2 separate regions of the Homo sapiens genome follow, and region 1 is linked to region 2. Evidence: promoter capture Hi-C in human tissues and cell types (Jung and others, 2019). All regions are on one chromosome and are shown on one strand. The core of a region is centred on a gene start or on the middle of the fragment in contact, and the rest is flanking DNA. Distances in the headings are between cores, read along the strand shown.

What was found. The method cuts DNA at HindIII sites, captures the fragments that hold promoters and counts their contacts. A contact is called where the count stands out against the background at its distance.
Region 1: a fragment that was not itself captured here is called in contact with the fragment with the promoter of CNBD2 in region 2 in 1 of the 25 tissues and cell types used here (IMR-90 fibroblasts).

Annotation. Positions count from the first base shown.
Region 1 is chr20:36,010,436-36,016,004 of GRCh38, reverse strand. It overlaps CNBD2 (cyclic nucleotide binding domain containing 2), which reads right to left. Exons shown (of 12, transcript NM_001365709.1): 10 at 4,748-4,868. Among named protein-coding and RNA genes, the nearest start is that of NORAD, 38 kb to the left of the region's middle. The HindIII fragment of the contact is 8,643 bases long and covers 1-5,569 here.
Region 2 is chr20:35,964,461-35,970,484 of GRCh38, reverse strand. CNBD2 (cyclic nucleotide binding domain containing 2) reads right to left here and starts at 1,895. Exons shown (of 12, transcript NM_001365709.1): 1 at 1,672-1,895. The coding sequence starts at 1,722. It also overlaps the pseudogene LOC124904982. The HindIII fragment of the contact is 12,223 bases long and covers 1-6,024 here.

The DNA.
Region 1 (5,569 bases), core at 2,320-4,819, 44 kb before region 2:
TGGCCTTGATGATCTGGCTGTGTTTTTCAGATTTTTTCCATTGTAAAGTTACTTCATTCCCCCCTTGCCATACTGTACTCTTTGGAAGGAAGTCCTATGCATGGCCCACATTTAAGTAGAGAGTTAGGCACTCTCTCCTTTAAGACAGAGTATCTACATAAATTGCTTGAAATTTATTCTGCAGGGAGATTTGTCTCTTCTCCTCCATTTATTAATTCATTATTAATTCATTTATATCAATATGCACTCATGAATGTTTATTTTGTACTTTTGGTTATAATCCAACACTGCTTTATTTTGTTGTTCAAATTGTTTCAGCTTTGACCATTGGGAGATCTTTTAGGTGGCCCCCATATGTCCCTTGGACATGCTCCCATATTAAAGCAGTTCCTGCCCCCTCCCCTAGCTCTTCCTTACTTTCTGGCATTTACAATATGTTCTAGACTCATCCTGTGTATTTCCTGCCCTAGTCCTAGATTCAACCATTCTTCCAAAGAGCCCTTGTTCCTTTTATTGGGAAACTGTATTAGAAATCATGATCTGGTTTCTTGACATTGGCCTGGGCAATGGTTTTTTTTGGGGTATGACCCCAAAAACACAGGCAACAAAAGCAAAAATAGACAAATGAGATTGCATCAAACTAAAAAGCTCCTGCATAGCAAAGGAAACAACCAACAAAGTAAAAAGACAACCTAAAGAATGGTAGAAAATATTTGCAAGCCGTACATCTGATAAGGGGATAATAACTAAAATGTATAATGAACTTAAACAACACAGTCTCAAGAAATCAAACAGCCTGGTTAAGAAGTGGGCAAAAACTCTGAATAGACATTTCTCAAAGGAAGACATACAAATGACCAACAGGTATATGAAAAAAATGCTCAACATCATTGATCATCATGGAAATACAAATTGAAAATCCAATGAGATGTTGAGTCATACCTGTTAAAATGGTTACTATCAAAAAGACAAAATATGACAAATGTTGGCAAAGATTTGCAAAAAAGGGAACCCTCACACACTATTGGTGGGAATATAAATTAGTACAGCCATCATGAAAAACAGTATGGAGGCCAGGCACGATGGTTCACGCCTGTAATCCCAGCCCTTTGGGAGGCCAAGGTGGGAGTATTGCTTGAGGCCAGGAGTTCCAGACCAGCCTGGGCAACATAGTGAGACCCTGTCTCTAACGAAAAATAAAAAAAATTAGTTGGGCATGGCAGCACACACCTGTAGTCTCAGCTATTCAGAATACTGAGGTGAGAGGATTGGTTGGGCCCAGGAGTTCAAGGCTGCAGTGACCCATGATCACTTGCCACTGCACTCCAGCCTGAGTGACAGAGCAAGACCCTGTCTCTTAAAAAAAAAATAAAAGAGGCCAGGTCCAGTGGCTCATGCCTGTAATCCCAGCACTTTGGTAGGCCGAGGTGGGTGGACCATGAGGTCAGGAGTTCCAGACCAGCCTGGCCAACATGGTGAAACCCCGTCTCTACTAAAAATACAAAAAGTTAGTCAGGCATGGCGGCGTGTGCCTGTAATGCCAGCTACTCAGGAGGCAGAGGCAGGAGAATCACTTGAACCCAGGAGGCAGAGGTCACAGTGAGCCGAGATGGCGCCACTGCACTCCAGCCTGGGTGACAGAGAAAGACTCTGTCAAAAAAAAAAAAAAGAAAGAAAGAAAGAAAAGAAACCAACCAAGATCCAAGTGTTAAGTGTGCTCATTGCTGGAAGGGTAACATTTCTTTTAGGCCCTATTATCTGACAGAGCAAAACAGTTGTATGTTTCCACCCATACCTATACATATTTCCTTTTTTTTTTTTTGAGATGGAGTCTTGCTCTGTCACCTAGGCTGGAGTGCAGTGGCACAATCTCAGCTCACTGCAAGCTCTGCCTCCCGGGTTCCCGCCATTCTCCTGCCTCAGCCTCCTGAGTAGCTGGGATTACAGGTGCCTGCCACCACGCCCGGCTAATTTTTTTTGTACTTTTAGTAGAGACGGGGTTTCACTGTGTTAGCCAGGATGGTCTCGATCTCCTGACCTCGTGATCCGCCCTCCTCGGCCTCCCAAAGTGCTGGGATTACAGGCGTGAGCCACCACACCTGGCCTACCTATACATATTTCTATACATAATTATCTGTAAGTATATATTGAGTTAAATTTCAGTGACTACTGATGTTTTCAACTCTAATCCATTACTACATGGAGTATTCTAGGCTCCCCCTGCTTTCTATATATTCCTGCTTAAATTGTGAAAAACCTGGCTCCCACCCTCTGCCATCCATTTACTGAACTGATTTATTTCAGTGTTAACACTGTGTACATGTATAGTAGTAGAAGTATTGTTAATCCCTACCTTCATGACAAACAGCTTTATCACTAGGGCACAGTGCTCAGACACAGTTCCTTTTGCTTTAGTCTTACCAGTTCCACTCATTTCCAAAGTTACTTAAGTCAGCATCTTTTCCCCCCAACTCCTTCACAGAGATTGTTTCATACATTTATAATGGTTAGATTATCTTGTCATAGTTTGTATTCCTTCCTCAGATCCACTAACCTCCTAGATGATTTTTTTCTTTTTTCTTTTTTTGAGATGGAGTCTCGCTCTGTTGCCCAGGCTGGAGTGCAGTGGCGCGATCTCTGCTCACTGCAAGCTCCAACTCCCGGGTTCAAGCAACTCTTCTGCCTCAGCCTCCCGAGTAGCTGGAACTAAAGGCACCCACCACCACACCTGGCTAATTTTTTGTATTTTTAGTAGAGACGCGGTTTCATCATGTTAGCCAGGATGGTCTCAATCTCCTGATCTCGTGATCCACCTGCCTCGTACTCCCAAAGTGCTGGGATTACAGGCGTGAGCCACTATGCCTGGCTGATTTTTTTTCTTTTTTAACAAATTGCATACATTAAGATTCACTCTTTGTGCTGTAAAATTAAATAGGTTTTGACAAATGCTTTTGTATCCACCATTACAGTACCATAGAGAATAATTTTACTGCCCTAAAAGTCCCCTGTGCTTCACCTATTCATCCCATCTCCTGAACTCCAAACCTCTTGCAACCACTGATAATTTTACTATCTCTATAGTGTTTTTCTTTTCCAGAATGTCATAGAATTGGAATCATGCAATATTTAGCCTTTTCATAATGGATTTCTTAGAAATTGAATTCTTTTTTTTTTTTTTTTTTGAGACGGATTTTCACTCTTGTTGCCCAGGCTGGAGTGCAATGGCGCGATCTCAGCTCACTGCAACCTCCGCCTCCTAGGTTCAAGCAATTCTCCTGACACAGCCTCCCGAGTAGCTGGGATTACAGGTGTCCACCATGCCTGGCTAATTTTGCATTTTTAGTAGAGACAGGGTTTCTCCATGTTGGTCAGGCTGGTCTCGAACTCCCAACCTCAGGTGGCCTCCCAAAGTGTTGGGATTACAGGCGTGAGCCACGATGCCTGGCCTAGAAATTGAATTTTTTAGAAATTAGATTCTATAAAAATATTAGGTAATTTATGTATTTGTTATTAATTTTTTTTTTTTTGAGATGGAGTTTCGCTCTTGTCACCCAAGAGGAGTGCAGTGGCACAATCTCGGCTCACTTCAACCTCTGCCTCCTGAGTTCAAGCAATTCTTGTGCCTCAGCCTCCCAAATAGCTGGGATTTCAGGTGCCTGCCACCATACCTGGCTTTTTGGTTTGGGTTTTGGTTTTTTTTTTTGGAGACGGAGTTTCACTCTTGTCCCCCAGGCTTTAGTGCAACGTCACTATCTCAGCTCACTGCAACCTCCGCCTCCCAGGTTCAAGTGATTCTCTTGCCTCAGCCTCCCGAGTAGCTGGGATTACAGGTGTGTGCCACCATGCCTGGCTAATTTTTGTATTATTAGTAGAGATGGGGTTTCACCATGTTGGCCAGTCTGGTCTTGAACTCCTGACCTCAAGTGATCCAACCTGCCTCAGGCTCCCAAAGTGCTGGGATTACAGGCGTGAGCCACCATGCCTGGCCCCAGCTAATTTTTGTATTTTTAGCAGAGATGGAATTTCACCATGTTGGCCAGACTGGTCTCGAACTCCTGACCTCAAGTGATTCGCCCGCTTCAGCCTCCCAAAGTGCTGGGGCTACTGTGCCCAGCTGGTATTGTGTTTTTAAATGTCAAATTTCAATTGTTCATTGCTGGTATAAGGAAAGCAATGGACTCTCTATATTAATTTTGTATCCTGTGACCTTGCTATAATCTCATTAGTTTCAGGAGGTTTTTCTTTTTAAAAAAATTGTTTGGAATTATCTACATAGACAATAATGTTATCTGCAAACAAAGATAGTTTTATTTCTTACTTCCCAATCTGTATACCTTTTATTTCCTTTTCTTGAATGGACTAGCTAGGACTTTCAATACAATGTTGAATAGGAGTGGTAAGAGGGAACATCTTTGCCTTGTTCCTGGATTCAGCTGGGATTACAGGCGTACACCACCATGCCCAGCTAATTTTTGTATTTTTAGTAGAGACAGGGTTTCACCATGTTGGTCAGGCTGGTCTCAAACTCCTGACCTTGTGATCTGCCCACCTCGGCCTCTCATAGTGCTGGGATTACAGGTGTGAGCCACCGCGCCCGGCCTATTCTTATCACATCTTTACAAATCAACATAATTCCTTAATATCAAATATGGAGGGAAGTGTTTTTAAACCTTTACTGTCATTACTTAACATTCCAGCCCATTCATGTTACGTACTCCATGGTGAACAGAGCTCTTGGCACACTCACCAAAATTTCTCCCTGCTCCACAGTGTGCACCTTCACGTAGGCCCCCACTGCAGCCTCCTTGGGGAGCTCACCAGGCTTGATATTGATCATGGCACATTTGATCGACTGAGCAGGCCTGGATCTGAAATGTGACAGCTTGTTAGAGAGCTCATCTGTAACACAGTCTGCTCCTGAGGCCCTGGCTAATCAGCCCTCACTCTTCTGCACATGGAGGGCTCCCCTCCCTGGGGAATTCACAACTTCCCAGAAGGCGAGAAAACTCAAAATCAAGCCCTGACTCCCATTGTCAGGAATTGGAGGGTGCGAAAGAGGAGACTTGGGAGAGGAAGGTGATACAGGCCCTCCCCTTAAACACCTGAGGGCTGTTCTCCTGGAGGCAGGGGCTGATGATCCCATGCAGCCAAGCCAGGCCTAATGGGTGGGAAGTCCAGGCTGGCCCTCTCATGCTCAGCATGAGGAAGGAATTTCTTTCTTTTTTTTTTTCTTTTTTTTCTTTGAGACGGAGTCTCACTCTGTCGCCAGGCTCGAGTGCACTGATGGGATCTCTGCTCACTGCAACCTCCACTTCTGGAGTTCAAGTGATACTCATGCCTCAGCCTCCCAAGTAGCAGGGACTACAGGCACCCACCACCATGCCCAGCTAATTTTTAGCAGAGACAGGGTTTCACAATGTTGCCCAGGCTGGTCTCAAACTCCTGGCCTCAAGTGATCCACCCGCTTTGGCCTCCCAGAGTGCTGGGATTATAGGCGTAAGCCACTGCGCCCAGCCAAGAGGAAGGAATTTCTTTTCTTTTCTTTTTTTTTTTTTTTTTTGAGACAGAG
Region 2 (6,024 bases), core at 646-3,145:
GTGGAGGTTGCAGTGAGCTGAAATTGCGCCACTGCACTCCAGCCTGGGCAACAGAGTGAGACTCTGTCTCAAAAAAATAAATAAAAACAAACAAAGGAAAAAAGAGAATGTTCTTTTTAAAGTGTATCATAAACAAAGTGAGACAACGAACTACAGACTGGAAAAATATACTTACTATGCATATAATCAACAAAGGATTACGATCCAAAATTTATTTTTTGTAATCCTACAAATCAAAAGAAAAATACAAATAACCCAATAGCAAAATGAGCAAAGGTAATTCAAAGGGAAAGTTCAAATTACCTATAAATTGTGAAAATATTGTTTTTATTCATTTGTATTTATATTTACATTGTTTGTAAAGAGGGGGTTTCACTTTGTTGCCCAGGCTGGTTTCCAACTCTGGCTTCAAGTGATCCTTCCACCTCAGCCTCCCAAAGTGCTGGGATTACAGGCATGAGCCTTCATGCCCCAGCCAAATTGTGAAACCATTTTTAACATTGCTAGAAATAATGGAAATGGAAATTAAAGTAATAACATGATACTATTTTGCACTTATCACTGGGAACTGGGAAACATGGTACAACCATGTTGAAGAGCAATTTGGCAACATTATATAAAGTTGAGGATGTGTGTACTTCACAATGGAAGAATTGTATGTACTTTATATGTCCTCTTCAGAGAAACATACATGTACAAGGGGATAGCCATGAGGGTAATCATGGCAACATTGTGTGTAACAGTGAATGGCTGAAAACAAATGTTCATTAGTAGGGATCGAAGGGATCAATACATTATGGTTCAGTCACAGGATTGAACACAGCACTAAGTCTGTGTGTGTCAATGTGGATAAAGCTGAAATGATTTTGAGTGGGAAAAAAGAACTATGATGCTATTTATGGTATCATTTTTAAACAGTGTGCCACATACTATATATTGTTTATGGATACATACACATGTGATAATATATAAAAATATAAACAGGAAGGGTGACACCAACTTCAGGAAAGTGGTTACTATTAAAGAGAAATAAAGGGGCATGGGATGGTAAAGAGCTTTCCCTACACCTGTAATGTTCTATTTCTTAAAAATTAGATATCTATGGAAATATGGGGAAAGGTACTTTATGAATAAAATTAATACTTACTGAGTACAATTTACTATTGTCAGGCATTATCCAAAGCACTATTCTGATATGTAAATCATTTAATCAGTAAATTTATGCAGTAGGTACTAGTATTATCATCTCACTTTACAGAGGAGAAAATAAAGGCACAGCAAACCAAGCAACTTGCCTGGGGTCACATGACTAATAGGTGATAGGGATTTAAACCTAGGTAGTCTGGCTCCAGAGTTCACAAGCTTAACCTATGACTCAATGTTGCTACCCTGACTCTATCCTCCCTCGTTCTCTCTGGATCTCATAATAGCAGGAAGAGTGGGTACAGAACAGGACTCAGTGGCTCTGAGTGTGGCTTATGGCTTGCCCAGTGTGGGGGGCTGGTAGGCTACAGGGCAGGGGTCCCTCCTTTGTGCCATGCTGTGACTCCAAAAGGTACAGGATGGCCACCATTCATCCAAGACCCCTCCTACACCTGCATCGACCTTCCTCAAAACACCTGTCTGTTCAGTCTTCTGCTCTTCCCTCCCAGGGCCCTTGCCCCTCCTCACCAGTTCCTTCTTCAGGAGCTGCCAGGCATAAGTTACCATATGTCTCCTCATGGTTCCTGTGCAGGCAAATGGCACAACTAGCCCCTTTGCCTTTCAAGGGGAGGACTACAAATTTTTCCCCAAAAATCCAGTAATACTAGAAACAAATAGATTTCCTCAGTAACAAGGCAAGAGCTCCACTCCACTCCTCCTACCATACCATCAGCTACTGGAAGCCCTGCTCTGAGAAAAATCATTCTCAGAATCTCCTAAGGTCACAATGAAAGATTCTGGAGGCAGGGGACACAGGGATTGGAATGTGGGAGTCTAACATTTATGGGATACTCACAGGCATTATCTCAGCTAATCCTCACAACCACCCAAACTTTTACTCAACTCCATACATAGGAGACTGGGGCTCAAAGTAGCTAAATGGCTGCCAGAGTCCTGGTGAGACAGGAGAATGGCACAACCCTGCTGACCAAAACAGGATCTAGGACCCCCTAGCTGTCCCCATCCCTCATTAACATAAGACACTCCTACCAGTGCCATGACAGTGTACAAATGTCTTGGCAATGACCAGGAAGTTGCTACCTCTTTCCTAGAAAACTCTAAAAACCCACTCCTTAATTTGCATTAACCTGCCCCTTAATTTGCATTAGCCTGCCCCTTAATTTGCATGTGATTGAAAGTGGGTAGGAATGCGTATACTACACTTGATCTCAGCCAAAAGGCTGAGAAGGGATTAGAGATGAGCATAAATACAGTTGCCAACATCTCATACACTGGGTATCGACTCCGGATTCATTGCCCATGAGTTAGCCCTGCCCCACAAGGAGAAGCACTATTCAATAAAAGATTGCTGTCTAACACCACTGGCTCACCCTTGAATTCCTTCCTTGGGCAAAGCCAAGAACTCTCCTAAGCTAAGTCTCAATTTGGGGGCTCACCTGTCCTGCAAAGATAGGGCTTTTTTGTTTTTTGAGACACTGTCTCACTTTGTTCCCAGGATGGAGTGCAGTGGCCCAATCTCAGCTCACTGCAACCTCTGCCTCCCAAATTCAAGTGATTCTCCTGCCTCAGCCGCCCAAGTAGCTAGGATTACAGGCGTGTGCCACCATGCCCGGCTGATTTTTGTATTTTTAGTAAAGACAGGCTTTCACCACGTTGCCCAGGCTGGTCTCAAGCTCCTGACCTCAAGTGATCCACCCACCTCAGCCTCCCAAAGTGCCGGGATTACAGGCATAAACCACCACTCCTGGCCAGGGCCTTTTTTTTTTTTTTTTTTTTAAGAAAGCAGTGTAGCTAAATGTCAGGTACACTTGCTCTCCATTTGTAGCATCCAATTAACAGAAGCAAGGTCTGGTCCAGCCTGGCCAATGTGGTGAAACCCCATCCCTACTAAAAATACAAAAAAATTAGCCGGGTGAGGTGGTGGGCACCTATAATCCCAGCTACTCGGGAGGCTGAGGTGGGAGGATCACTTGAACCCGGGAGGCAGAGGTTGCAGTCAGCCAAGATTGTGCCACTGCACTCCAGCCTGAACGACAGAGCAAGACTCTGTCTCAAAAAAAAAAAAAAAAAAAAAAAAAAAAGCGGGAGGGGGAATTGGCATAAATGGCATGCAGAGGAGGGAATGAGCAGGTGGGAGTCTCCATGACTCACTTTGGTGCCTTATCTACCGCCTGGTCGAGCTGCCACCATCTTGGGCAGAACTAGGTTGTAAAGTGGCCTTGTCTCGAGATACTCTCCAGGTGGGGCAGAGTTTCCTGGCAGGCATACTTTTGGTTGTAAATTGACTATTGTCTCTCAAGGCAATCTGGTGGGAGAGGTTTCTACTCTGGAGCTTTTAAGTAAGCACACAGATACACTTGCTCTAGGAGTGTCTGGTGAAGGGAAAGCAAAAGGTTATAACTGCATTTCTAATCAGCTAAGTAGGAAGTGGGGAACAGAAGAAAAACACAAAAGAGAAAGAAGAAAAAGATGATTTAAAAAGATAACTCATTCTCTATCTCATAGAAAAATGGGTGTACTTTGTTACAGCGGGAGGCTTCTAGGCTGGGAGTAGGTTCATCCAGCACCTTAGCCCAGGGACCACTCTGAGACTTAGAACTTGGAGGCCCTGGAACGTGGGTGCATAGTACTGTCCCATAAGTCTGGTTAAATCAGGACAATAAAAAAAAAACTCAGCAAAACAGAAGACCTCACCCAAATCAAGTGTCAAATATTGAATGGAACTTGGTGACTAGAACTCAAATCTCTGGAGTCCTTCTAAAGATATAGAAAAATATAGGCTCTAAAGTGCTTTTTTCTATTAAAGATGACAATTGAGTATCTCAATTTGCTCTTGCACCAGGATCCTCAGTAGAAAACTGTGATTTCAAGCATCACCTGCTCTGCCATTCCTATCCCGTGGGGTATATCTGTTAACTCTCCTCCAACTGATAGGTAGACAGAAGGACACTGAGTTCAGCAAAGATGGCTGGACAGCTGAGAAGAAAGACAAAGGCCACTCTTGGGGTGGGACAGTAATCACACACAGAGGTGAGAAGGGACAAAACTGGTTTTTCCCCCATACCATGAGAAAAGATGTAAAGAATTCAGAGAGAGAAAGAAGAGAAAGTTTTAGAAAGAGAGACAGAGAGATGAGGTATGGAGTTTTTGCCTCCCCCACTGCAAACCTAGTCTTAAGGAAGGAAATATAAGAGGATCCCCTTCAAAAGTGTAGGGGGCTTCTGAAAGAAACAACTGGGCCTGGAGAAAGCAAGAGAGATGGTAGGAGATGGCTATAGGCAGGAAGGGTGTCCCGTCAGTCCTCTGAACTGCCTGAGGATCCAAGAGTGACAAGGAAAGTATCCAGGCTCACAAGGGGCATCAGATGATGCCAGTACGACCTGATGAGACCCCAAAAATGTTTACTGCCAACCTCACCTCTTGCCAGCTGTGGTTGTACAATTTCTCTAGGAATTAGATCAGCTTTGGGGAAGAAGAAGCAGGAAGTTTGGAGAGCTATGAATGGGCCCAAGATGAATCAATAAGCCTGAAATTATATCCACTCAAAATTACTGGATTGGATCTCAATTTACCTGAAGACATCCTAAATTCAATTATCTGCAAGGAGGTGGGCTGGGGATTCAGAGTCACACATTTAAGTCAGTTCTAGAAACTAAGAAAGTTTCATTTCTCTTACAGTTCCTGATTTTATAACTGTAACTATTACAGGGTAGAATGCCAAAAAGAGCACTGGTCCTATTCCTATGTGATCTTAGGTAAGTCACTTAACTACTTGGGGCCTCATTTTCATAATGTATAAAATGGAGTTCGATTCAATTCCACAAACAATTTATGAGAAGATTCGGCCAAGCGCGGTGGCTCATGCCTGCAATCCCAACACTTTGGGAGGCTGATGCGGGTGGATCACCTGAGGTCAGGAGCTCAAGGCCAGCTCGTCCAACATGGTGAAACCCAGTATCTACTAAAAATACAAAAACTAGCCCAGTGTGGTGGCATGCACCTGTAATCCCAGCTACTCGGGAGGCTGAGGCGGGAGCATCATCTGAGCCTGGGAGGCGCAGGTTGCAGTGAGCCAAGATTGCACCACTCAAGCCTAGGTGACAGAATGAGACTCCGTCTCAAAAAAAAAAAAAAAAAGAGAGAGAGGGAGAGAGAAGATTCTTATTGTTTTGCTGATTATAAAAGCTATACAACAAATGCTTACAAAGCATATGAAGGTGAATAAGATGTGGTCCCTGCTTACCAGGAGTTCACAATATGGTGGGGAAGTAAAATCCTCAGAGAAAGTCTTGCTATAATAAAGCTATGAAAGATATATGAGGCCGGGCATGGTGGCTCACGTATGTAATCCCAGCACTTTGGGAGACCAAGGTGGACAGATCACGAGGTCAAGAGATTGAGATCATCCTGGCCAACATGATGAAACCCTGTCTCTACTAAAAATACAAAAATTAGCTGGGCTTTATAGCGGGAACCTGTAGTCCCAGCTACTTGGGAGGCTGAGGCAGGAGAATTGTTTGAACCTGGGAGGCAGAGGTTGCAGTGAGTCGAGATCATGGCACTGCACTCCAGCCTGGCAACAGAGTGAGACTCCGTCTCTTAAAAAAAAAAGATATATGAAGAGGTGGTTGGGTGCAGTGGCTCACGCCTATAATCCCAGCACTTTGGGAGGCTGAGGTGGGTGGATCACGAGGTCAGGAGATCGAGACCATCCTGGCTAACATGGTGAAACCCCATCTCTACTAAAAATACAAAAAAAAAAAATAGCCGGGCGTGGTGGCAGGCGCCTGTAGTCCCAGCTACTCGGGAGGCTGAGGCAGGTGAATCACTTGAACCCAGGAGGCAGAGGCTGCAGTGAGC